7 separate regions of the Homo sapiens genome follow, and regions 2, 3, 4, 5, 6 and 7 are each linked to region 1. Evidence: promoter capture Hi-C in 16 types of primary human blood cells and fetal thymus (Javierre and others, 2016). All regions are on one chromosome and are shown on one strand. The core of a region is centred on a gene start or on the middle of the fragment in contact, and the rest is flanking DNA. Distances in the headings are between cores, read along the strand shown.

Region 1 (3,881 bases), core at 473-2,972:
GTCCAACTTGTTGCCTTTATATCCTCTCCCTCATCACAAGGCTCTTTCCAGCCACAGTGGCCTTTCTCTTCCTGAAACACACCACAATCACTTCTGCTACAGGGCCTTTCATTTGCTCTTCCTTTTGCAAGGAATGTTCTTTTCCAAGACTTTGACACACATGGTCCCTTCTCTTTAGATGTTACTCCAATGTCACCTTCTCTGAGAGTCCTTCCTTGACCAATGTGAAATAGCCCCCCTCATAATCACTTTTACATGATTCTCTATTATTACAATAGTCACAACTCTATTAATATCTGGATTTATTTATGTCTTGTCGATTTTAGAATTTAAAAGCTCTATCCCCAAAGCCTCCCGTAGTATACAGTAGGTACCTAATAACTTTATTAAATACGTGAATTTTCCCCATTGCATTATTGTAAATCAACCAATTCTGATTAAGCACTTTGGTCCATGTCATATTTTGTATTAACAAGTCGTCAAAACACTCCTTAAATTTTCCAATCTAAGACTATTTCAGCACTCTAACCGCAGCCCCCAACACAAAATCTATCTATAGCATCCCACTTAAAACTGCTAAATATTCCATATGGATGAAGATTCAATTTTCTTCCTCCTCTCCAAGCTAACGAACGCGTAGGCGGGAAAGGGGAATTTTACTGGCCACCTCAGCACCTGTTACATCTTCAATCAGTGAAGAGAGGTGCAGATGAGCCAGACAGCACATGGGAGACGTGGCCTTGCTTTCAGGAATTATATTTAGGTGAAACGTGAGTGATTTAAGCTAGAACTGCCCGAATCCCCAATAAAGGCCGTCTACTTCATTTAGAAAAACAAGGTAAAATAATCTGTAGGAAGTAAAATACAGTCGGTTTCACTAAAATAAACCGATTTTGAGGCCCCCGGAAAATATTGCGGGTGGGGGTTGGAGACGGTCTATATATAACGGGAAAACGAGAGCAGCTCAGCAATAAAATAAAGCTCGACTCAGGCTCTCGGGGGTATCCTGAATCTGGAAGCGAGGTGGACGAGGAGGAGAAGCCACAGAACCCTGGGACCTCCGTTCACCGCTTCGGCCTCCACCGCAGGCACTTGGGGAAACTGCACAGATCTCTGGGTCCGCCTATCTCCCACTGCCATCCCTGCAAAGAGATATCCCCCGGATACTCACATGGGCTCGAGAGTCTTGCTGAGCCAGGACTTGAGTGCCTCGAAGTTTTCAATGATCATTTTAGAAACCATCCACAGCGGCCCTAAGGCCCGTCACACTCCTCCGCCCGCCCAGGTCGCGGCCGCTACAGCCGCCGCTGCCCCCGCCCCCTCCTCCGCGCGCCGCCCGCGTGGGCCGCGGTGGGAGGCGCCGGTGGCAGGTTCCCGCGGGCCCCGGTCGGCGAACAGCTCTGCAAGGACCGCCGCAGGCCACAAGTGCACGGGGTGCCAGGAGCTCCCCGTCCCCGGCCCCCAGCCCGGGCTGAAACAGCAACGGTTTGCCCGGGCCCTCCCCCTTCCCTCTTCCCCAGCAAATCTACCCAGACCGGAAGCGCGACACGCGCTTAGACCCGAGCCTTCTCTCAGCCTCGGGACCAGGTGCTTGTTGGCTACGTCGAAAAGGCAAAAGTAAAGAAAGCGAAGGCGAAGGGCAGCTCAATGGGAACGATTCAGGGGGTCTTCCCGGCTCCCAGCACCCCCAAGAAGATGGCTGCCGGTAAATCTCGCGAGAATTGATGAAGTCTCGCGGTGGCTCCCGGAGCCTGCTGGGAGAGACGTAAGGTCGGCGGAGAATGCGCGGGTCGAGTGCTGTAGTTCGATTTTTGCGTGTGTGCGTTGCTTGCGGCCTTTGTGCCTTTTTATTCTTTGCTTACCTTTATGATATAAAGACCTTATTTCTTACAAGGAGGAAAAGACCGCTGACTTCAGAAACAGCGGGAACCCCAGCTCGTCCCCGGTAAGACGGCCGTGGCCTGTCAGCTGGAACGGTCCTGCCGGATGGATCGCTCTTTGAGAGCGTACACTCCCGCGTGCGCGACACCAGGCGGCCCGTAGGTTCCAGGTGCCGAGCACACTACCTCCTCAGTTTACCTAAGTGCCCTACCAGTATCATATTCTGTGTATGCTGTGATGTGAACGAGGTTTGTAAACACAGGCTGGTCTAATGGAGCCCAATGAGACCGCCAGAGGATTAGTGTCTTGTCCAACAGTACTTGACTTGCTGGTAGAGCCCTAATGACTGAGGGCTGCCCACAAGGGAAAGGTGAGAGAACCTTCACGTCTCTCAGGTAGTTTCCAGCCTGCACTTTCCCCCAGCTAAAGATAAGTTTTGTTATTTTTAAAATTCTCTTTATTTAGAGCAAATTCAGCCCTATCTCAGATCGGGAAATTATATAGTATCAAAAGAGAGAGTCTTCATATTAGCAACCCAAATAAATAAACTATTTTCCTGGGTGATCAAATAAGTTTGATTCCTGCTTGAGTTCTATTTAGATACTAGGTGGAATTTTACAAAGGGTCTACGTTCCATGAACTGTAATGGAATGAAAATATTCACAATCTAAAGACATTTTCAGTAAGTAGATCAATAAAAGCTCTTTATGAGAGACACCGATAGGCTAAATTGTTCTTAGGAACTCTTGAGTTTATAATTTGCTAGAGTGAAGTGTCTTTAAGGATTAGGTGGAAAGATTATGAACTACAAAGCAAGACATTTGTTTTAAAATACAGCATATAGAGTAGAATACAAATTAGAATCCAGCTACTGAATAACCAGGGTGTTGATTAAAGTGATTTAGCTGAGTGAAATAAACCAGACATGAAAGGACAAATATTATGATTCCACTTACATTAAGTACCTAGAGTAGTCAAAACTCCTAGAGACAGAAGGTGGAATGGTAGCAAGAGCAGGGGTGGAGAGGGTGCCCAGGAGAAGGGGAAATGAGGAGTTATATTTCAGTGGATAATAGAGTTTCAGTTTAGGATGATTTAGATTCTGGAGATGAGTGGTGTTGTGTGGGTTGCACAATATGAATGTACTTAATGCAGTGGACCATATACTTAATGAAAACGGTAGGTTTTATATGTATTTTACAATAAAAATTGTTTATAAATTTAATACTGCCGAAAGTTAAAATTATATTTGTTTAGTCTGTTTGTTGTAGCCTTGCCACAGGCTGACGCCACCAATATTTTCAACCTTATCACCAGCTACTCCATTACTCTGGCTCTCCACTTCAGCCTTCCAAAGCTTCTATCAAATACTGTATACCCCAGATAAACTGATTTGCTCACCCTCCCTTTCTCCAAACATTTGTTCACTTTATTTTCCACAGAGAACGCTTCTACTTCTTTCCCTGACTGCTCAAACTTTGCCCATCCATCTCTCATACCACTGTCACTGTCTTATTTAAAGTCTTTTATTCTTCCTAAATAATAGCAAAAGCCTTTTAATATCTTTGCCTTTTATGCTGACCTCCATCTCAGTTCATCTTCAGTTGCCCTCATCATCATTGCCTTTAATAGCAGTAATTCTAAAATTTTGATCTAATCATGTCACTTTCTTGCTTAAAATCTTCAACTTCCACATTATCTTTAGAATAAAACACATTATTTAACATCCTATAAAGGGACTTTCATAAATCAGACACCTTCCTTTTTGCCTAGAAACTCCTTTCAGTCTTTGCTCCAGCCATCCTAAACTATTTTGAGTTCCTTAAAATAAGTTGTTCCATGAAAAGGCCCTTTATGCAAAGTGCCCCCCAAACATCAAAGGAGAAATCAAATGAACAAAGCAGACAAATCCAGTTTGGTCAGTAAAGAGTGTTTTGTTGGGGGTAACTTACAGACAGAAGCATGGTCTTCAGTGGCAGCAAGACAGGTAGATGTCTGCC
Region 2 (3,881 bases), core at 621-3,120, 1.7 Mb before region 1:
GTGATTCATCTCTCCACTGGAGAACTGCGCAACCCTAGCCATGGGAGAGGACCTTGACTCTCCTAAGCTCTAGAGCTAACATGGGAAGCAGCCTGGAAACTGTGAGAAGAAACGGCCCTGGAATGCCTCCAAAGCATCTTCTCAGGCCTGGGTGCTGACAGGACAGTGCCATTCTTGATGCTAGCTCACAGCAAGCCATGCAGAATCCTGGAATTTAGCAGCAGTGGCAGCTGTTGGCATAAGAGTTTCAGTCTGGATATTGGAGTACTGGGTTTCAAGCAGAGGAGGGGCCCCACAGCCAGAACTGAGAGATGAGTGGAGTGTGGGCTCCAGCCATGGGCACTGGAATTGGGCACCCCCTTTTCGTGGGACGAGAGCAGAGGGAGATTTGCCTGAGAGGCATGGTTTTGGCTCAGATGATGAGTATTATAGCTTTGGATGGCCTTGAGGACTGAAAGCAGACTGCATGTGACTAAATGTTCCAACTGGCTCCATTGGTAGGGAAAGGAGAGTGAGCCCGATTGGGTCTGGAGAGTGAGCCCAATTGGGTCTAGAGAGTGAGGGAGAGACCTGTCTCATTCCTGTTTATCTGACCTTGGTGGCAGCGTCACTCTCTGCTCCTGTTCCTGGGACTTTGGTGCAGCAGTGGTTGCTCTGCTCCTTGCCCAGGCATTTCTCCAGCAGCATAGTGACTGCCTCTGGATCCCCCCAGCAGGGCTAGTGCCTGCAACCACTACTGGGGGACCTGAGTGCAGGCTTGCCAAGATCAGCTCCATCCAGTATCAAACTCCCCACCATGGCTGAGCACAGGACCCAGAACACTGAGTGTTCCATGCCCAGCCCATTGCCTGGGACACCCAAGTACTTCTGGTTAACAAAAATCAAGCATAAACCATATCGCTACCACTTCAGCTGCTCTTACCTGCAAATACCCACTACCTACTGGCTTGGAGGTTGACCTGCACAGCCCATCACAGCATGTGCTGACACAAATGCACAGCACTTGAGAAGGAGATAAGCTTCTTGTGACCGCTGCTATCACCATTGCCCATGCCACCCTGGCTACTCAAGAGTCGATGAGGCTGCTCACCTGTCCAGTACTCCACTACTACAACCAACATTTGATAAACCACCACACTGATATGGCTATTTATAATCAAGGAAATAATACAGGATCTTCACCATTGAATACACCCAGAAGCAATGCCAAATGGCTCTACTCAACATATATCATAATCACATCCTCAAGGAAAAAAGGTCCCACCCCAATGAAAGTAATTTCAAAAATAAGCAACTGTTTAGATGAAAATAAATAATCATATTAAGAAGTAAGGTATTATGACAACACAGTAATTCTCCAGAAATAAATCCTAACCAAAAAGAAATCCTAAAAAATGCCAGATAAAGAATTCAAAATAGTGATTTTAAAGAAGCTCAGTGAGATGCAAGAGAAATCTGAAAACCATTACAAAGAAATCAGAAAATCAATTCAAAATATGAACAAGAAATTTACCAAAGGGATAGATATCTTAAAAAACAAACAAAACTCCTGGAAAAGAAAAATTCGTTGAAGTAATTACAAAATACTTCTAAAAGCTTCGACAGTAGACTAGACCAGGCAGGAGAAAGAGACACAGAACTTGAAGACAGGTCTTTTGAATTAATCCAGTCAAAGAAAAATAAATAAAACAGTATTTAAAAGAATAAAAAAAAAACCTTCAAAAAGTATGGGACTACATAAAGTGACAAAACTTACAATCCTTTGGTATTCCTGAGGGATTAAAAAAAAGCAAAAAGTTTAGAAAAACTACTTAAGGAAACAATTGATGAAAACTTCCCTAGTCTAGCATGAGATTTAAACATCCAGGTATAGGATGCCCAAAGATCACAAGCAAAACACATCGCAGAATAGACTTTGCCAGGACATATAGGAATCAGACTGTCTAAGTCAATATGAAGAAAAAAATCCTAAAATTGCGAGTGTCTAGTTACCTACAAAGGAAACCCATCAAACTACAGCAGATTTCTCATTAGAAACCTTCCATACCAGAAGAGAATGGTATGCTGTTTTCAAAGTGCTAAAAGAAAAAAGAAAAAAAAACAAAAACAAAACTATCAGTCATGAATTTTATATCCAGCTAAAAGAAGCTTCATAAATGAAGGGGAAATAAGGTCATTCCCAGATAAGCAAACACTGAGAGAATTCATAACCACTAGAGTGGACCTACAGGAAATGCTAAAGGAGTCCAATATATTGAAACAAAAAGGTGATATTTGCCATTATAAAAATACACGAAAGTAAACACTCTCAGGTCTTATACAACAATTACAAATCACAGGAGGAAGATAGGGGAATCAAATGGCACTATGACAGAACTCCACCAAACCACTGAGCAAACAGAGAAAAAAAAATAGAATTTACCAGATAACTAGATAACAATGAACAATATGACAGGAATAAAACCTTATCTATCAATATTAACATTGAATGCAAATGGATTAAGTGCTCCACTTAAAAGATATATATTGGCAGAATGAATTTAAAAACATGATCTAACTATATACCACTTACAAGAAACTCATCTTATTGGTTAAAAATATAGATACATTGAAAGTAGAGGGGTGGAAAAATATATTCAACACATATGGAAACCAAAACTGAGCAGGAGTAGCTATACTTATACAGATAAAACAGATTTCAATTCAAAACAGTAAAAAACAAACAAACAAAAAAGAAAGGCATTATAAAATTATAAAGGATATATTCAATAAGAGAATAAAATAATCCTAAATATGTATGCTTCAAACACCATAGCACCCAGATTCATAAAACAAATATTACTAGACCTAAAGAATAAGGTGCAATAATAGTGGGGGACTTCAATACCTTACTGACAGCACTAGACAGATCATTGAGACAGAAAATCAACAAAGAAACACTCTACTTAAATTAGACTTTTGACCAAATTGACCTAATAGATATATACAGAACGTTTTCCCCAACAATTGTAGAATATACATTCTTCTCATTGGCACATGGAACATTCTCAAAGACAGACCATATATTAAGCCACAAAAGTCTCCATAAATTGAAAAAAATTAAAATCATATCAAGTATCTTCCCAAACGACAGCAGAATAAAACTAGAAATCAATACCAAGAGGAACTCTGGAAACTATACGAATACATGAAAATTAAACAACATACTCCTGAAGGAACTTTGGGTCCATGATGAAATTAAGACAGAAATTTAAAAATTTTTGAAATGAATGACACACAACATATCAATACCTCTAGGATACAGCAAGAGCAGTACTAAGATACAAGTTTATAGTGTCAAATGTCTACATAAAAATAGAAAGATTACAAATTAACAACCTAATGTTGAACTTCAAGGAATTATAAAACCAAAAACAAACCAAACCTAAAGCTAGCTGAAGAAAAGAAATAACAAAGAACAGAGCAGAATTAAATGACATTGAGACAAAAAAATACAAATATAAAAAAATACAAAAGTTGGTTCTTTGAAAAGATAAACAAAATTGATATACCACTAGCTAGACTAACCAAGAAGAGAGAAGATCCAGATTAACATAATCAGAAATGAAAAAAGAGACATTACAACGAATACCCCAGAAATACAAAATATTATCAGTGACTACTATGCACAACTATATGCTCATAACCCAGCAAATCTAGAGAAAATGGATAAATTCCTGGAAACATACAACCTCCCAAGACTGAACCAGGAAGAAATACAAATTCTATACAGATCAATAATGAGTAGTGAGATTGAATTAGTAATAAAAAAATCTTCCAACAAAAAAGAAGCCCAGAACCAGATAGATTCACAACCAAATTCTATTAAGCAAATAAAGAAG
Region 3 (3,881 bases), core at 334-2,833, 1.7 Mb before region 1:
ATGGCACAACTAAATTAGACCACCTAAACTGTTTTTTGCATAATTGATTTTCAGTGAAAAGACCAGAGGGTGCTTCCCTTTTTGACAGTGCTAATTGAAAATGTACAATGTTTTCTAGGAGCAAATGGAGTTGACTGAAGTGTATGACGTGTGTTTGAAATAAGTAACTTTTAAATGTTGAAGTGAGGTGCTGAAGTAGTTTACCTGCAACTGGGCGAGGCAGGGTTGGGGGTGGAGGGAAAGTTTGTTATAGGACAGCTTAGTAAGTAACGCTTGAACTTCATGTATCCTTTTAAGAGCCTGTTGGAACTAAGTATTGTAGTGGCTATCTAGTTTGATCCTAGCAGGTGCCAGTGACTCAAACACTGTTACAGAGAACTAAAGATTCGTTGATCGTGCTTATTAGTGTTGATGTTTCAGCTTTCCTTAAAATAAAACTTGCAGAGATTGAAGGCTCTTAAAATTATTTGTCTGAAAATTACCACATATTACTTTTCAGTGGCAGGTCTAAAAAAAAAAAATTATATATATATATATACACACACACATATATATTTTTATATGTGTATATATACACATATAAAATATATATACATATGTTTTATATGTATATATATACATAGAAAATATATATACATGTTTTATATGTATATATATACATAGAAAATATATATACATGTTTTATATGTATATATATACATAGAAAATATATATACATATGTTTTATATGTATATATATACATAGAAAATATATATACATATGTTTTATATGTATATATATACATAGAAAATATATATACATATGTTTTATATGTATATATATACATAGAAAATATATATACATATGTTTTATATGTATATATACATAGAAAATATATGTACATATGTTTTATATGTATATATATAGAAAATATATACATAGGTTTTATATGTATATATACATAGAAACTGTATATACAGAGGTTTTATATGTATATATACATAGAAACTGTATATACAGAGGTTTTATATGTATATATACATAGAAACTGTATATACAGAGGTTTTATATGTATATATACATAGAAACTGTATATACAGAGGTTTTATATGTATATATACATAGAAACTGTATATACAGAGGTTTTATATGTATATATACATAGAAACTGTATATACAGAGGTTTTATATGTATATATACATAGAAACTGTATATACAGAGGTTTTATATGTATATATACATAGAAACTGTATATACAGAGGTTTTATATGTATATATACATAGAAACTGTATATACAGAGGTTTTATATGTATATATACATAGAAACTGTATATACAGAGGTTTTATATGTATATATACATAGAAACTGTATATACAGAGGTTTTATATGTATATATACATAGAAACTGTATATACAGAGGTTTTATATGTATATATACATAGAAACTGTATATACAGAGGTTTTATATGTATATATACATAGAAACTGTATATACAGAGGTTTTATATGTATATATACATAGAAACTGTATATACAGAGGTTTTATATGTATATATACATAGAAACTGTATATACAGAGGTTTTATATGTATATATACATAGAAACTGTATATACAGAGGTTTTATATGTATATATACATAGAAACTGTATATACAGAGGTTTTATATGTATATATACATAGAAACTGTATATACAGAGGTTTTATATGTATATATACACACATAAAATATATACTTGTGTGTATACATATGTGACTGTACCATTTGTTTTTTGTATTATCTGCAAAAAGATGACTTTAGAACCAAATATTTTGAGAATAACTGAGACTTTGTTTTCCAGACAGTTGTCATACTTCATTGGAAACATTCAGGGTTATCATGGGCTTTATATTATTTTTGTTCTCCCAGCATAGAATGTGATGTGTATGGAAAAGAAGGGGTTCTATGAGAAGGATAGTAGTTTCTGGTGTGTGTGGTTTGGAAGCAATTTAAGAAAAGTTAAAGAAAATTAGAGTGACATTCCAAATAGTAGTTTGAAATGTATATTTCAAATATAATTTGAAGAATTCTGAAAATTTAGATTAAGACTTTTCAGATGCTCTTGCCAGAATCCAATATACCATTAATGAAACTACTGAAGTTGAAAAAAATGTTTATAAGTCACTAGAATGTATGATGTACTAATGATGGCCAGATAGGACATTGTAAATGTTACTTGCATTCTAATGACATTGAATAAAGTGATTTTTAAAATGACTTTTTGGAGGGTTAGAGCTATATAGGAGAAATACAGATTTTTTTTTTTTTTTAAAAACCTTGCCTATCTAATTTTGGAGCTGTGTTGTACTCAAGGAGTTTTTAGCCACATGATCTCTATAACTAGTTTTTTGTATTATCTGCAAAAAGATGACTTTAGAACCAAATATTTTGAGAATAACTGAGACTTTTTTTTTCTAGACAATTGTCATACTTCATTGGAAACATTCAGGGTTATTGTGGGCTTTTTCTTTCTTTAAATCCAGCTCTAGGCCAAGTCATAGAAACACTAGGCTCAAAGCTATCCTGCTCACTGTCAGGAGACTGACTCTGAAAATGATCACTTCTGTCTTAATGCCATACATTTGTATAGCACCTCAACAGTTTTATCAAAATAATATAATAACATGTTAGTAGTTTTCAAAACTCCCCTTGTTAGGCTTATTACAGGAAGCAGTCCTCTACTCCCTCCTCCTGCTGAGTCCTTCACATAGGCATCACTTTATACTCTACTAGCTGTTTCTTTTTCCTAAACAGTCTTTATACTTTTATGATCTTAGACATCTATGGACTTATTATGAAAGAAGAAAACTTAGCTCTCTTCCTCTCACCCTTGACTACCATATCTCTTTTCCCTTCTCATAATGGTTTTTATGGTTTTTCTTTTATATTTAATGTCTGCATTATGATTATAATTTACTAGCTAAGTCCTGTTAATTGCATGTTAAACATGTATTTTCTCTGACCCCTTTGTTCCTCCAAGAGTTAGTAATGGCACTTCTTCTCTCCTCTTCACTTTCTTTAATTACCTATCAGAAATTATTTCCCCAAACACGCTAAAGGAGCCATAAAATCCCTCATTAAGGTCATACACATTTGGCAGTCTGTTAAATCTGCTTTTTTAAAATTTATATTGTAGTGCTATCCCCTCTGAAACTCTTAATCTCATTGCTCTAGTTTTTACTGTTTGCCCCCTAAGCTGGATGCATACTGCTGTTGCCATGGGAACTCTTTCAGTTTCTTGGCAATGTGGATTCCCTTCTTCTTAAATCCTTTTCGTTTGTATTTTTTTTATTCTCTTAGGTGGGGCACAGCCTTCAATAGCTTTCTGAGAAAGGAGACCTGCAGGAGAGGCACACTTTGAGATCCTGCGTATTTGAAAATGTCATTGTTCTGCCCTTACATAAGATTCATAGTTGGACTGGCTATAAAAGTCTAAGTTAACCTTTCCCTCATGTTTGAAGGCACTGTTCCATTTTGTTCTAGCTTCTGTTATGTTCTAGCTGTTGAGTGCACTGTGTTTGGATATCTAATCCTTTTTGACTTTTTCTTTTGCTTCCTTTATTCCTAGTATTCTAAAATGTCATGTTGTACCTTGGTATGGGTTATTTTATTTAATATACTGGACATTCGTGCACACTTTCACTCTAGAATTGCATGGCCTGACTTCCACTCTGGAAATTTTCTTGCTCTTTTTTTTTTCTTCAAAATAACTTTCCAGTTTCTTTCTTTTCTTTCTTTCTTTTTTTTAAGAACTTGTAACAGACAGATGTAGGTCATTCCATCTGGCTTAATCACTTGATTTTCTTATCTGTCTTATCCCATTGCTAATCTGTTTTTATTTTGTTTTCAGGAGACTTCT
Region 4 (3,881 bases), core at 599-3,098, 1.7 Mb before region 1:
AATCTCATCTCCATTTGTAATCCTCACATGTAGAGGGAGGCACCTGGTGGGAGGTGACTGGATCATGGGGGCGGTTTCCCCCATGCTGTTCTCATGATAGGGAGTTCTCATGAGAGCTGATGGTGTTAAGTGTGGCACTTCCTCGCTCTTTCACTTTCTCTCTCTCCTGCCACCATGTAAGGATGTGCCTTGCTTCCCCTTTACCTTCCACTATGATTGCAAGTTTTCTGAGGCCTCCCCAGCCATGGGGAACTGTGAATCAATTAAGCCTCCTTTCTTTATAAATTACCCAGTCTCAGGTAGTATCTTTGTAGCAGTGTGAGAACAGACTAATACACAAACCATTAAATCCCTTTGGATTAACTCTTTGAAGGGTTATATAGACCATTCCTAAGCCTCCTTACTTAATCCTTGACTCAGTGACTTATATCTACATTTTAACATACAAATTTGGCTCAATAATTTGAAGTAAAATTCAAATTGAATTCAGAATTAGTCCTTTATCTCAGGGGTCAACAAACTTTTTTTTGAAAGGAGATAGATAGTCAATATTTTAGATTTTGTGGGCTACATAATCTCTGTCATGACTGTTCAACTTAGCCATGCCCAGAAAACAATGATCAATGCAGAAATTAATGAATGAGGATGCATTCCAATATAACTTTATTTACAAGCCCTGACATTTGAATTTTGTGTGGTTTTTCACGTGTCACAAAATGTATATATTTTTCCCAATTATTAAAAAAATATGAAAACATTTCTTAGCTGGTGAATTATTACAAAAGCAGGAGTGGGCTGGATTTGGGGTACTCTCGGCCACAGTTTACCCACCCCGGCATTAAGTCATTTGCACACTAGATAGATTTACATACATATAAGCATTATGTCATTTGCACACTAGATACATTTACATATAAGGTTAGGTTTTTTTTTCTTTTCTAAAAAGTAATCCTAATTGGTGGTTGCTATTGAGATATTAGACTAAGTGCTTCATTATCCGATTTTCCTTTCATTGATGTGGAGCTCAGGCAGAATCGTGAGGTCATGAGGATAGGAACTGGCATACTGCAGTTTTGTTCATGATGTAATTTATTTAAACTTCCTGTAAAAGTTTAGAGAACGAGTTTTTCAAAACCAAAATTAGTCTTTTACTTAATTTGTATATAAACTCAAAACTTCTTTTGCTGTGACACTAAATGTTTTTATTCCAGAGATCCATAATCCATAATCCTGTTGAGATAAGAAGTAACCAATTAGGTTGTTTACTGGAGAAAATTCTTTTTTAAAAAATTCAACTTATATTTTATAAAATATAGTTTAAAAAATAGTCTTACAACTGTTATAAGACAAATATCAAATTGCTGCCCCAATCTCTCATGCCCTTTTTATTTCCCAGATATACTTAAGAAAAGCTATTTGTTTTGGTTTTACTGTTTACCTCTCTTTTTAAATTCCATGTTTATATGGCCATTGCTTTGAATTTTTTCATTTTAAACATTATCCATTGGCTTTTGACTTTGGATGGTGAAGATTTAATTCTTTTACACCTCACTTCTATATTTTTTCTCTGCATGTCCTTTCTATGTAACCTTTTACTACCTTTAGGGGACATCAGTATATATTATGATAGAAAGTTATATTCAAGCCATGCAATATTTTATCATTTCTTTTTCCATCTAACTTTTTTGTTTTTGAGACAGATTCTTGCTCTGTGCCCAGGCTGGAGTGCAGTGGTGTAATCTCAGCACACTGCAACATCTGCCTCCTGGGTTCAAGGGATTCTCTGGCCTCAGCCTCCTGAGTAGCTGGGATTACAGGTACACGCAACCACGCCTGGCTAATTTTTGTATTTTTTAATAGAGATGTGGTTTCACCATGTTGGCCAGGCTGGTCTTGAATGCCTGATCTCAGGTAGTCCACCTACCTTGGCCTCCCAAAGTGCTGAGATTACAGGCGTGAGCCACTGTGCCCAGCCCATCTAACATTTTTTTTCAGAATTAATTGGAAAAAGACACCTAGTTTTGTTGTTGTTGTTGCTGTTATAATTTATAAGACAGGGTCCTTGTCATTAATTTATCCCCAAACTCTCTTGATGAACCATCCGCAGTATGAGACACATAAATCCAAGAATTTTGTTTTGTTACTGTTCCTTCAGGCAGCGCCCTATTCTCTTACTCTACTTGGAACTAGTCATCTTTAGCCTCTGAAGAGCCATCATGGTGGGACTTTCTTTTGCTTATCCTGGGAATTTCTCTGGCCCCTCTTCAGTGCTATATTACCTGCTTCTGAGATACAAGTACTTTCCTTTCTATTCCATTAAAAGAAACGAATATTTCTGCATTTGCTTTTTTGGGAGAGTAGAGGGAAAAAGGATATGTGGCAGGTAAATTTTGAGAACCTCCTGTGTTTCAAAACATCTTTATTCCTACTTTCACTCTTATGCAGGATTGTTATTTGGGTTAGGTATAGAATTCTAGGTTAAAAACCATTTCCCACAGAGTTTAGAAGGCATTATTCCATTATATTTTAGCTTCGGGGTTGCTGTTGAAGTTCAGCACCGTTCTTATTTCTGATTCTTATTTGTGACCTTTCTACCTAAAATAACATGAATATTTTAGAATATTGTCTTTTATTCTTGGTATTCTGAAATTTCATTTATTTTGTGTGTGCTATAAACTTTAGTTCTGCAAAATTTCTTGCATTATTTCTTTGTATTCGTAGCCCTCCGCCCTTGTTTTCTCTATTCTTTCTAGATACTTCTGTGGGTCAGAATCGCCTAGATTGATGTTCAAATTTTATATTTTTCTCTCTGGCTTTCTATTCTTGATTTTGTTGCTGTTGTTCTACTTTTTTGGAGATTAAAAAAAAAAAAAAACACATCTTCTAAACTCTACTGCTGCATATTGAGTGACTTCTATGTACCAGGTACCATTGTAGGTGATGGAGATGCATCAGTGAACAGCACAGGTATTAAGTCTCTGCCCTCATTGAGCTCACCTTCTGGTATTCAGATTTTCACTTAGTCCTCCAGATCTGTAAGGTATTTTTATTTGTGTTTGTAAAATCTAGTGGCTTTCTATTTCAGTTTATTCAGGTAATGAAGCCTGTCTTTGATCAAAGTAGGAGAGGAGCAGTTGCCTGAGCAGGCGGGGTGGGGAGCTGGAGGGTTTAGGTGCTTTCCTATAGATTTTCAGTCACCTGGTTTTTTTCACTTCACCACAAAACTCCCTACCCTCTGTGGTACTTCGCACCTACGATTCCAGAACCTTGCTAGGTCCTTATTAGTTTCTTTTTGCTGTAAGGCCATAGAACAGAGGATGTCAAAACCCAAGTCTCTTCCGCTTTTCATTTCTAAGATGTTGTGACCATCCCGAGTGTGATAATTGTCTCCTGTCCCGTTCAGTCTTCCTATGGCTTTATAAGAGTTTGAGTTTAACTCTTACTGTAGTGTGGTTTTATAAGAGAATAGGGAGGAATTCATAGTTAATCCCCCATATTGAAGAATACTTACTGGCTTCCAATTAAGGGGGTCCTTTGTCAATGATGGTTAATTGACAGATATCAAAAATTATGGTTTTGACCCACACTTTATTCATAACATAAAGATTTAATTGGAATAATGCGAGCTTTCCATATTTTTGGTTTCAATAATTCTCTAATAAAGCATTTTTCTTTTTTTTATTATACTTTAAGTTTTAGGGTACATGTGCATGATGGGCAGGTTTGTTACATATGTATACATGTGCCATGTTGGTGTGCTGCACCCAGTAACTCGTCATTTTATTTTTCTTTTTGCTTAGACTTAATTTCTCCCTTGGGCAGTCCGCATTTTTGAGTAACAGATATTACTGAGTGTTTTCTTTGAGACTAGAGTTGTTTCT
Region 5 (3,881 bases), core at 1,382-3,881, 1.7 Mb before region 1:
TTTCTTGGATTGCAGGAAATGGCAGCATTTCCAGAATTCGGTGGCAGCTTTGTTGCCTTCTTGCATGGTTTTCCACCGGTTAGTGTGCTTGGCATAATCCTTCCTTTTAACTGTGCGATGCAGTGCTGTAGGAACTAACTCATCTTAGTGTCACCTGTTTAACCACTTTTCCATGTTTGTTACCCCAGTCACACAGATCCTAGGCCTTAGTAATATAACATCATTTAGTTGGAAACCGGAAGATTGATATAAAATTCAGCAACTTAGTAGTTACTAGAAAGTATTAATGAAGTGCTTCTCCAGGTATATTTTTCACCGAGATTTTAGCTGGTTTGAAACATCTAATTAGACTATTATGTGTCTTCAGAGTTAACAGAATTATACTTAAGTTTAAAAAATTGGGCAAAGTAATTTATATGTCAGGATAGGAGTGGTAGAATGGTTTGAGATAAGGAAATATTAGTCAACTTGCCAAAATTTTGACCACATTTAGCATTTATTGAGTGCATACTGTGTTCCAAGTCTTATATTAGGTACTGAAATGACTGTAGTGAGAAGAATGAAAAGGATTGTTGCCAGAATATGTTATAGTGTTGCTTTATTTTTGAACTCTTTAGTTTAATGCACTACCGACCTTTTGAGTCTTCTAAGATATTAAATCAGTTTTTTCTTTTATGTGAATTAAGTAATTGCTTTCTTAAATTTGATTTTGATTATGTGTAGAGACATGTCTATTTAACAACAATTTGAATACTTTGAGTCTAAGCAAAGATGATCAAGCAATGGTAGGAATGTCATTGTTTCTGGGAACTTTTTGTTGGTCACAGAATAATTTTCAGTGTGACAAATTAAAGAAACTTAGGTTGTTCCTTAAACCCATTCTGTCGTCTGCCTTTTTATGATTTTCTTGATTTTATCACGGGAGCATTTATCGAATCTAGTTTTTTTGGTCATACTTTGCTTAATGGTATACAAAAATAACTACACAGATGTGTTATAACTTATCTTTTCAGTCAAGCAACTTTGAAAATGTACAAAAAATAAGAGACCGTTAGTCACCCTCAACTTATATTTTTGAAAAAAAATGAGGTATCAGTCTACAATTTAGTACTTTATCACATTCATTCAGTAGAAGATGATTGTCAGACAAGGGAGGTGAAGTATAAAGTTTAACCAATAAGGGTGCATCCTTAGGGTAGCTTCAGAGACACTGTAGAGGTGGGCATGAGATAAATGACAGTCTGTAAGGGTGGTAGTGAAATGAGCTGAAGTACCTTTAAGGTCTTGCATTTGATGAAAAGCCCCTGCGGTACTTTAATTGATGAGAGTAACACAGTTAAAATACATGACATTCAGAACAGGTTTGCTCAGGGCAGTGTTGGTGGCTGGAAGTTTGTTGAAGAGCAGGTTGCAGTAATCTGGTGAGAGGTGGTGAGTGGTTAAGGAAGTTGCGGTAGAACTACAGAGATTATGCAGAAAGAAGTGTCCTGGGAGGCAGTTTAGCTTAAGGCATTTGGGAAAGAAAACTGTGCCAAGTATCGTACATTGATTCAGTGTGTAGTCCTGTTTGGGGCCAGTTCGATGCTATTCTAGGGATTGGAATAAAATGAAAAAATGCATAGTCTATGCCACTTCCAAGTTTGCGAACCGCCCCCCCCCCCTTTTTTTATAAATAGAACTCTGGAGTAGGAGTATAGGGAAATTTAACTGTTGTTCAAAAATGGATCACCCATTTTTTCTCTTTTGGCAAAATTGCCTCACTCCTTTCTTTAGAGCTATTTCGGTCATCACTGAGCCTCTTGAATCATTTCACATCATTTTATATACCAAAAATCCACTGAGATAATTGGTTGAAAAAGATAAAATTGCTCTTTTTTACAAGTTCTTTTTGTTTGTTTTATTCTTTATAAAAGTGCTTCCTGTTACAATTCTTTAGCTATGTACTGAAGAACAACTAGGATGTGATAGCTTCCACTCCTGTCCTCCTCCTCCTCCACTGTAACCTTGGGCACTAGTGGAGCATTATTGTTTTGTTAGCCTGCCTTTACAATAATTTTCCTCCCCTTTCTGAAAAGCTTCAATGCTAAACAACAATGTAGAGCATTCTTTCTTGCAATAGACGCTAATTGTGTTCCTAGTTGGGATCTTGCTGTCATAGCCACAATAACTGTGTCAATTGTGCAGGGAGGCTGGGTCACAGTGGTTATTGTGCAGAGTGATGAATGCTGCTTACTTGTGATGTGCTGCCGCCCGCATCTGTGGGTGAGAACACGCAGTTACTGTAATTTGCCTGGCAAGTGATCAGACTGGTATAAAATAACATCATCTGTTAGGCAAGATAGCAGTCACAAAGAACTATTGGTCTTTTAAAATATAGAATTTTTAATGAGAAACTTTGAATAATAGAGATTGAACATGTGAGAACAGCTACCTAGTGTGTGTTGCATTATTAACCCCTAGTTTGTAGTGTATTCTGGAGTCAAGTTGACCTACATAGAAGAGAAGGAACTGGAAGTGCATGTCTGTGTTCTGGCTCCGATTGGGAAAAGCTGCTTAACCACTGTAAGTTACGGGTTGGATAAGTGACATATACGACTGGTGTCAATTGGCAACCAGGCTTCACAGTTTCATGAAATGTGTGGATTCTGAAAGTGTTGTCATTGCGAATGTGGTTTCCTTGCCTAGTTCTTCCACATACTTAAGGAAAAGATATTTTTAATGTAATTGTTAGAATGTGTTGGTACGTAATGATTCTGAAGTAAAAGGAATTTTTTTTTTTTTTTTTTTAAGTAAACTTGGTGTTTTGCAAGGATCTGAAGAATCCCAGTTTGGAGCTGATTATTTTCTTGACTGTCCACATCCCACAGTTTTTTTTTTTTCTCTCCATCCCACTGCCCATTTTAAAGCACTTTTCAGCTGTCTGATTGCTCATTAGCATTGCTCATTAAAAGTGGTCTGGGGGCATGCATTTCAAAGCAGTCCTTTTAATACTTGGTTTTTCAAGTTTTGTCAAATTCCCAGTGAATACAAACCAAGTTATTTCTTGAAGTTTAGCCTTGTTTATATTTTTTATATTATTCCTTCTGCTTAGTACATGTCTAAATGATTACTTTTCAGAAAAGTGAATTTTGCTTAGCGCATTGATTTGTATCTCATGAGAGGAGAGTAAATCATGTTTGGTGTGACTTAAGCTTTTATGATTTGGGATTTGTGTGTGTGTGTGTGTGTGACCCCAAGAACATGGAGATACAAGGGGTGGTAATTTTGGAGGGGAGAAGTACATTAATTAGACAAGTGAGGTAATGTAAGAATGAGATCATCTGCCCATGGCTGGTGTAATTCCTTTTTGTTCATTATATTAATTTAAAAAATAATATTAAAGTAATAACATGTATATTCCTACCTTGAAAAGCTAGTTATATAAATAATATGTATGTTTAATGCAGATAATTTGGAAGTTTTTTTTAAAGAAAAAATCCGAGTGATCACCAATAGTCTCTGTACCGGATAGTCATTGTTAAGCTCTGGTATAGACACCCCTCTGTTACTCTGTACACTGTTTTTCCTTTAAACCTTGTTTTGGTCTCAAGGCCATTTGGAAACACAATAGTCATTCTAAGTCCTCCCATAATCCAATACTGAATTTACATAAAATGTTTTTTATCAACATTTTCTGATATTAACTGAGTAGAAAAAATATAGAATTACATATAGTTAATATTAAGAACATTTCCCTTAATTCCTAAAGATTAGGAAGATTATAAACTTGAGTTTTTCTTTTGACACTAATCCTTTTTTATATTGCAAAACACTAAATCCTTATGTGGAAATAGAAAATTGAAAACATTTCTAACGTAGAAACTCAAAATAAATTTTCATTA
Region 6 (3,881 bases), core at 975-3,474, 1.6 Mb before region 1:
ATCACCAAAGTGAGTTCAGGTAGATAGGAGAGGACTCAGGACTGAGATCTAGGGCACTTAGGCCCTTTATCTCATGTGAGTTGCTCAAAGGAGATACCACGGATAACAACCTGGAACTCATACAGGAAAGAGGATGCTTTTTTCTCCAATGTGGAAGGGAGTTGTGGTGTTGGGTTAATACGGACAACCTAGCATGGTTTACATTTGTACTAGTTAGCTAGTGCTGTGTAACAAGTTAGCACAAGACTTAGTGGTTTAAAACAATATTATCTCAGTTTCTGTGGGTCTGGCATCTGGCTATGGCTTAGCTGGGTTCTCTGGCTTAGTGTTTCTTACAAGGATGCAGTCATCTCGAGCATGCTTGTGGAAGAACCTGCTTCAAGTTCACTTTTGTGGTTGTTGGAAAAACCCATTTCCTTGTGTGCTGTCAACAGAAGCTGCTCTCATAGTCTCTTGTTGTGTGGACCTCTCCTTGCGCAGGTCAAAAAGTAGCATCTTGCTTCATCAGAATGATCCAACAAGATGGAAATTAAGGCCTTTTAAACGTAATCTTGAAAGTGAGGTCTCATCACTTTTGCCCTACTCTGTTCATCAGAAGCCAGCCAGTAGGTCCAGCCCTTATTCATGGGGAGAGAATGACACAAAAATGTGAATGCTGGAGGTGAGGATGATTGGGACCATCTTAATTATAGAAGCTGCCTGTAAAACATTGCCATTAACTTTACCAGATAATCCCAACCAATTTCCAAAATAACTGTATAATATTACGTTTTTGCCAGCAGTGTATGAGAATTCCAGTATATCCTTGCTATACATCCTTGATATTGTTAGTCTTTAACTTTTTAATCTGTGGGTGTATAGCAATGTCTCCTTGTGGTTTTAATTTGCATTTCCCTGGTTGCCAGTAAGACCAATACCTTTTCCTTTTCATTCATTTATTAGATGGATTCCTGTTCAGATCTTTTGCTTATTTTTCTTTTGGGGTTTTTTGCTAATTGCAGTAGTTCTTCATATATTCTGCTATAGTCCTTTTTTCAGTTATATGTGTTATAAAAATATCTTCCCCCTATGTAGCATGACTTTTAATTCCCTTAATAGAGTGTTTTGATAAATAGAATTATTTTAATATAGTACAATTTGCCATTTTTTAAGGTTACTCTTTTGTGTCTTGTTTAAGGAGTATTTCCTTACCCTAGGATCGTGATACATTCTCCTTTCTTCTAGAAGTTTTGTTATTTTACTTTTCTCCTATAAATTTATAATCTACCTGGATTTGATCTTTATATATTGTACAAGGTAGGGTTACAATTATATTTTATATTTTCCATGTGCATATCTAATTGTCCTAGTAACACTGAAAACTTCATCCTTACCCCCACTGCTTTTTGTCATAGCTTTATATTTGTCTGTTTTGGAATTGTCTATTTTTGCACCAGAGCCATGTTGTTTTAATCACTGTAGCCTTATATAAGATTTTCTAAATAGCAGAGCAATCCTGCTCCCTTGTTTTCTCTTAAGAGTGTTTTGACTATTCTTGTCTCTTTGCATTTCCATATATATTTTTAAGCAAGTGGGTCAAGTTCAAGAAAAATATCCTATTGGAATTTTGATTGGGATTGCATTCAGTTTGAGGGAAATTGAATCTTTACAATTTCAAGTCTTATAATTCGTGAATATGATCTACCTCTTACTGATTCAAGTATTCTTAAATCTCTTATTAAAATTGTATAGGTTTTCTATGGAGAAATCTTGCCGGAATAATTTCTAAGTATTTGATTTTTCATGCTGTTGTAAATGATATTTTAAAAAATTTTATCTCTAGTGGTTTCTTTTTAATGTTTTATTCAACAACCTTAAATTTATGTTGGTTTATATTAACTTATCTTTAGAATACATAGAAACTGTATCTGTACATACAGTCAAACATATGGATATTAGATTATTTCTTCCTTTCCTATTTGTATATTTTTTTCTTTCTTGCCTATGGTTTTTGATGCAATATTAAATATATAATAATAGGTATCTTTCTCTCTTTGCTATTTTCAGAAAAAAAGCTTTCTATTTTACCCTTAGTTTTAAATTTGCTAATAGTATTATTTTATTGTGAAAGAATGTGAATTTTAACAGATTTTTTCTGCATCTATAAAATATGATCCTATTAATAATCTATTATTAATAGATTAAAATGATTATCTCATTTAATCTGGTAATATGCTGACTTTAACATAGATTTTTTGAATGTTGAATCAACTTTGAATTATTGAGATAAACCCAGTTTAGTCATGATTGTGTTTTTCTTTTAAAGACAGATGTATTTGACTTTCTAATGCTTAGGATTTTCGTCCAATTTTATGAATAAAATTGGTCCATAATTTTTTAAAAAACTGTCTCTATTAAGCTTTGGAATGATGATAGCATTAATCTCACAGAGTGAGTTGGGGATATTTTGTCTTTTTCTATCTGGAAGAATTTGTGTAATATTGGAATTATTTTTCCCTTAAATATGTGATAAATCTCTAGTGAAGCCTTCAGGAATTAGAGTTCAGATCAAGTCATGTTTTACAATCTGATGTTGTTTATACTTACTCTATTTCCAAGAGTTGTGATAAAACCTCCCTCTATAATGGTGAGTGTAAATGTTCCCCCTTACAGTTCTATCAAATTTGCTTTATGTTTTTTGACATACACCATGTAACTTTGGTGTATACATATTTAACAAGTTTTATCTTCCTAGCAAAGTAGACCTGTTATCAATGGAACTATTCTTTATCTTTTTTTAATGTCTTGAAACCTACTTTTCTGATATCAAGGCTATGTTAAATTTTAAACACATCAGATTTCTTTTAGTGCTTATATAATGTATATTTTTAAACCTTTTACTTTCAAACTTTTAGAAGTCTTATGTTAAGCATCATATAGTTTGTTGATTTTTTTAAAAATCTAGTATGAACATTGTTGACTCAACTTCAGCATTTAAACCATTAGTATTTAAAATAATCACTGATATATTTAGATTTCAATCTATCACCTTTTTATGAGCTTTCTGTTTGTTGTGTCTGTTCCTTTGGTTTCCATTTTAGTCTTACTTTAGTTTGCTTTATCATTCTGTTTTAATTTCCTACTAGTTTGAAAATTATAGCCTAATTGTCTTTTGCTATTCTTTTAGTGGTCACCCAAGAAATTACAATTTGCATCTGCATTAATCTTTGTCTTTACCATTCTTCTAGGGAGTATAAGGACCCTTAGTGTTATACCTAATCTATGTATGTGCAATTGAAGTGTCAGCCTGGGACTGGGGAGAAGAAATCATATACAGACTTTTAGGCTCTCTGAAATTCAGAGAAAACAGTCATATAAACAATGCAGCACTGTGTCGACAAAAGATAGAAAAAGATACACAGAGTGGTTTTAGGACAGAGGGAATGATCAACTTTGATGGGATCGGAAGGTTTTCCAGGTAGCTTAAGTGTTATTATTTTATTTTAAACTAGGCTCTGAGTTTATCCATTCAACAAATATTATTGAGGGTCTACTATTTGTTAGGTTTTGTGCTAGATGCAGAGGATGTAATAGCCAATTAGTCAGGCATGATTCCTATCATCGTGGAAATTACATTCCTGATTCTAGTGAGAAAGGTTCAAATCAAATAAGCAAAATACTATTTCTTTTCTGCAAAGGAAAAAGTAGGAGCTGAGATATAGAATGGTAGGGAATGAGAGGAAGAGAAAAAGGATTATTTCAATAGGGGTTCTCTGAAGGTATCCCATTTAAATAATCATCCTTGGGACCTCCTCTTCTGGGAAAAGGATATTTAAGCTGAAAATGTACAGGAGTTAATCAAGTGAAGAGAAGGAGAAAGATTTTTCCAGGCACAGATAGGG
Region 7 (3,881 bases), core at 646-3,145, 1.3 Mb before region 1:
AGAAGGCAGAATAGACACTGCTGACACTGCAGCAAGTCTTATAGTGGATGACTGTCAAGCCAATCCAAATATTTTAGACTCCAGCTGTATGAACAGATGTTCCCAAATTGGTGAACTGTTTACATTTAACAGAGGACATTTAATCTTTCAAGAGACTCTGATCTAAGGTTGTCTTCTTTTAAAAGTTAATATGTCTGTCATAAGACTTTATTCCTAGTAGCAAATATTTAAAGCAACACTTTTTAAAGAAAGTAGAAACTGGTATGATGGTGTGTGCTTGCAGTGCCGGCTACTCAGGAGCCTGATGAGGGAGGGTCACTTGAGCACAGGATTTTGAGTCTACCCTGGGTAACACAGTGATACCTCATCTCTTAAACAAACAGAAAAACAAAAAACGAAAGTAAGAAAGTTGTGGAAAATTGCAATTTAAAATTATAATTTCTTAGTAAACATATTAGAGACTGAAGTTATTTTGATAATATTTTTTTCCAAAATCATACATGATAGATGTGTCAGTCAGTTTCACACTGCTATAAAGAACTTCCTGAGACTGGGTAATTTAAAAAGAAAAGAAGTTTAATTGACTCACAGTTCCACATGGCTAGGGAGGCCTCAGGAAATTCACAATCATGGCAGAAGAGGAAGCAGGCACATCTTACATGGCAACAGGCAAGAGAGAGCCTGTGAAGGAGGAACTGTCAAACACTTATAAAACCATCAGATCTTGTCAGAACTCACTCACTATCGTGAGAACAACATAGGGGAAACCATCCCCATGGTTCAATCACCTCCCACCAGGTCCCTCCCTTGACATGTGGGGATTATGGGGATTACAATATGAGATGAGATTTGGGTGGGGACACAGAGCCAAACCATAGCAATAGGATATGGAGTTATATAGTAGACTTAATTTTTTAAAGTAAGTTTTTAAAATTCTGAATAATGCAGTGTAACTTTTTGTAACTCTAGCATAAAGATACCTCTGTATGTATTTATGCAACAAATTAGATAATCTCATAATTCACTGAGCGTAAAAGATGAACAATATGCCACATTCTAGATCGTCTATATAGCCACGGCTATATAGACAAAAGCAGATAGAAGGTTTAGAAAAACGTTTGGATCAAAATGCCAAAGACTTAACTAAGTACCATATTATATGAGAATCAAAGGAAGAGATAGTTTTGTGATCTGAATTATTTGGATTGATTGCACAAAGTGACAACCAGAAAAAAAGAACAGAAAAACAATAAAATTATTCTTAGATGAAAATTTTATTAGCTTCTCTTTCCTCTACTCTAGTGTAATATTTTCTTCATTTTACACACACTTTAAAATTCATCTAAGAAGAAAATATAAGATTTACATATAATTCAGATACTTTTTCTTATGAGCTAGAGAGGCCAAAGAAACAAACCAACAAACCAAAAAACAATCCCTTCCATTAAACCCCTGAGTAAAAGTCAGGAAGTTGATCATATGCGATGATGTGACACCTCTTAATCACGGAGAAAGGACATTGATGAATAATCAGCAGGATAGCAAAGGTGTAGTGCAGTCACTGATAGGACATCAGCAGTTACTCCTGGGAAAGTGTAAGAAATTTTAAGGAACAGCAGAAAAGAATGAAGGACTCAGCTCCCTAACAGAATCAGAGAATTCATAGGCTCAGATAAAGGTGACTCGTTTCTGTATTTCTATGTCAGAAATATACAGGAGCTCATCCCCCCAAAAGTGAAGCAGTCTATAGTCACAAATTTTATTTTGGAAAAATGAAACAAAACCAGAGAAAAACTTAGAGCATCTTTACACAAGCTTTTTTTTTTCAAGTGCTTTTTGTTATTCTAATGGATCCTATATTCAAAACATTCCAAGATAATCAGTGTCTCTCTGCAGGAAACCCTGCTGATTTTAGGGAAATGATTAATAATCGGTCACTTTCTCTGCCCCTTTCAGCTTCTCTTAAGTTTAGTGAGGAAGCTTAAAGAATTCTTACACCTCCCCCTGCTGGCAGCAAACAAGAAGTGCAGGTTTGGTACGTAAAACACGTTCACACTGAAAATAATGGCTAAGATCAACTTTTGATTCTAAAAACAAGATTCTTTCCATCTGTAATCCGTGAAAAAGTTTGAAACATGAATTTAAAACATGAAAAGTAATAATAAAGTTTTGGGAAGTACTGCTTTTCAGAAGTCAAACAATGAGTATTATGTTAAAATATTTAATTCAACAGCATTCCTTCAAAAATTTATATTTCTGAAATCTGACTCCAGAAATGACTTTGTTGTGACCTTTACGTCTTTTCAACTGTGTCTCTACTTGCTGCCATTCTCTCTATAGATCCCATTATTATCCGTCGCGGAGACAGGAGGTTCGTCAATCACTTAATCTGCTCCCCTGCACTTTCCAACTCCCTTGCTGTTCTTGCTTCTGGGCGGTACTGATGGGTCACTTACGGGTCCACACACGGAGGACCCAGCCCATGATCCCCATCTGCCTCTGCTGCGGCAGGTACTGCAGATGTTCCAGAGAGTGGAGTGTCCATCAACCTAGATGCTTGAGAGCCTATGTTGAGCAGGGGCCTCTGTGTGTTCCTCCCCTCATTGACCTACAGCTGAATTTGAGTGAGAACTACCTGTTAGGTGTTAAGCAATTGAGAGTTCATTTGTCCTGAAAATAACAACGTAGCTGATGACTTTAGAATGTAAACCAAAACATATCTGATACAAGTCTAAATCAATTTACAAAGTTTATTTTGCCAAGGTTAAGGAGGCACACCCCTGACACAGTTTCAGAAGGTCCTCACAACATGTGCCCAAGGGGTTCAGGGCACGGCTTGCTTTCATACATTTTAGGGAGACGTGAGACATCAATCTATATGTCTAAGATGTACGTTGGTTTGGTCTGGAAAGACAGGGCAACTCGAAGTGGGGCAGGGGCTTCCAGGTCATAGGTAAATAACAGACAAATGGTTACATTCTTGTAAGTTTCTGATTAGCCTGTCACTGAATATACGATTTACAGGAATAGTCACTTATGCCTTAGTCTGGCTTAGTGAAACAATAGGGCAAAGGAAGCAATCAGATATGCATTTGTCTCACGTGAGCAGAAAGATGACTGAGTTCTGTCTGTCCTTTATCCACAAGGAGTTTCTTTGCAGACAAAGTGGGAGAGAGGTATTTATCTTTTTAATCTTTGTAGCTGTTTTATTTAGGAGTAGAATGGGAGGCAGATTTGTCTGCAGTACTTAGCTTGACTTTTCCCTTTGTTAGTGATATGGGGGTTGCAAGATTTATTTTCCTTTCACAGGTATATTTGCACCTTTCACAAGAACATTAAGAACAATCCTGAGCATTCTTCATGTCTCGTTTGATCCTTACCACTGCCCTCTGCAGTACTTTATATAGATGTTATTAGCCACATTTTGTATGTGACAAAACTCTGGCAAAGGTAGATTAGATGCATTGTTCCAGGTCACACGGGCAAGAAGTGATGGAACCAGGAATCAACTCAGATTCCAAATTTCCTCAATTTTTATTTCGACTTTACATTGTCTCATAAAACAAAATTCACAATTATGTAAGATTAATTACATCAAGTTGAACATCATCACTTTGTTTAAAAAGTTATAGGGGCAAATACATTTAACACACAAAAAATTATTAAGTCTACTTTGTTGAAAGCACTACTGTAAGCATTGCAAGATATACAAACAAGTATGAGATGTAGTCCTTATCTTCACAGAAATTACACTCATGCTTGGAAGCCCAGTCAAAGAAACATGGAAAGCTCAAGAGCAATATAGAAAACTTTACAAATAGTCCCTGACTAGTTGTCAAGTTAGCTTTTCACACATTAGGTGATCAGTAAATGTTTGCTGG

Evidence for each region. The method cuts DNA at HindIII sites, captures the fragments that hold promoters and counts their contacts. A CHiCAGO score of 5 or more calls a contact.
Region 2: a fragment that was not itself captured here is called in contact with the fragment with the promoter of RBM26 in region 1 in 1 of 17 cell types (total CD4 T cells); the score reaches 7.4 in total CD4 T cells.
Region 3: a contact is called between a fragment that was not itself captured here and the fragment with the promoter of RBM26 in region 1, in 4 of 17 cell types (non-activated CD4 T cells, total CD4 T cells, naive CD8 T cells and 1 more). The highest score is 9.9, in non-activated CD4 T cells.
Region 4: a contact is called between a fragment that was not itself captured here and the fragment with the promoter of RBM26 in region 1, in 1 of 17 cell types (naive CD8 T cells). The highest score is 6.6, in naive CD8 T cells.
Region 5: a fragment that was not itself captured here is called in contact with the fragment with the promoter of RBM26 in region 1 in 3 of 17 cell types (naive CD4 T cells, total CD4 T cells and naive CD8 T cells); the score reaches 7.0 in naive CD4 T cells.
Region 6: a contact is called between a fragment that was not itself captured here and the fragment with the promoter of RBM26 in region 1, in 1 of 17 cell types (erythroblasts). The highest score is 5.3, in erythroblasts.
Region 7: a fragment that was not itself captured here is called in contact with the fragment with the promoter of RBM26 in region 1 in 2 of 17 cell types (total B cells and naive CD4 T cells); the score reaches 5.6 in total B cells.

What each region holds. Positions count from the first base shown.
Region 1 is chr13:79,404,533-79,408,413 of GRCh38, forward strand. RBM26 (RNA binding motif protein 26) reads right to left here and starts at 1,723. Exons shown (of 22, transcript NM_001366735.2): 1 at 1,172-1,723. The coding sequence starts at 1,242. RBM26-AS1 (RBM26 antisense RNA 1) reads left to right here and starts at 1,777. Exons shown (of 7, transcript NR_038991.1): 1 at 1,777-1,945. RefSeq lists a silencer at 1,279-1,478 and enhancers at 1,388-2,379, 1,709-2,008. The HindIII fragment of the contact is 7,810 bases long and covers 1-3,236 here.
Region 2 is chr13:77,678,821-77,682,701 of GRCh38, forward strand. No RefSeq gene overlaps it. Among named protein-coding and RNA genes, the nearest start is that of SLAIN1, 17 kb to the right of the region's middle. The HindIII fragment of the contact is 552 bases long and covers 1,595-2,146 here.
Region 3 is chr13:77,703,368-77,707,248 of GRCh38, forward strand. The region is part of intron 1 of SLAIN1 (SLAIN motif family member 1); the gene reads left to right. Among named protein-coding and RNA genes, the nearest start is that of MIR3665, 7.2 kb to the left of the region's middle. The HindIII fragment of the contact is 6,755 bases long and covers 1-3,881 here.
Region 4 is chr13:77,721,073-77,724,953 of GRCh38, forward strand. All of the region lies in intron 2 of SLAIN1 (SLAIN motif family member 1), which reads left to right. Among named protein-coding and RNA genes, the nearest start is that of MIR3665, 25 kb to the left of the region's middle. RefSeq lists an enhancer at 3,087-3,216. The HindIII fragment of the contact is 6,197 bases long and covers 1-3,881 here.
Region 5 is chr13:77,738,879-77,742,759 of GRCh38, forward strand. The region is part of intron 2 of SLAIN1 (SLAIN motif family member 1); the gene reads left to right. Among named protein-coding and RNA genes, the nearest start is that of MIR3665, 43 kb to the left of the region's middle. The HindIII fragment of the contact is 1,116 bases long and covers 2,074-3,189 here.
Region 6 is chr13:77,769,688-77,773,568 of GRCh38, forward strand. No RefSeq gene overlaps it. Among named protein-coding and RNA genes, the nearest start is that of EDNRB-AS1, 47 kb to the right of the region's middle. The HindIII fragment of the contact is 344 bases long and covers 2,053-2,396 here.
Region 7 is chr13:78,119,675-78,123,555 of GRCh38, forward strand. The region is part of intron 1 of OBI1-AS1 (OBI1 antisense RNA 1); the gene reads left to right. Among named protein-coding and RNA genes, the nearest start is that of OBI1-AS1, 67 kb to the left of the region's middle. The HindIII fragment of the contact is 165 bases long and covers 1,814-1,978 here.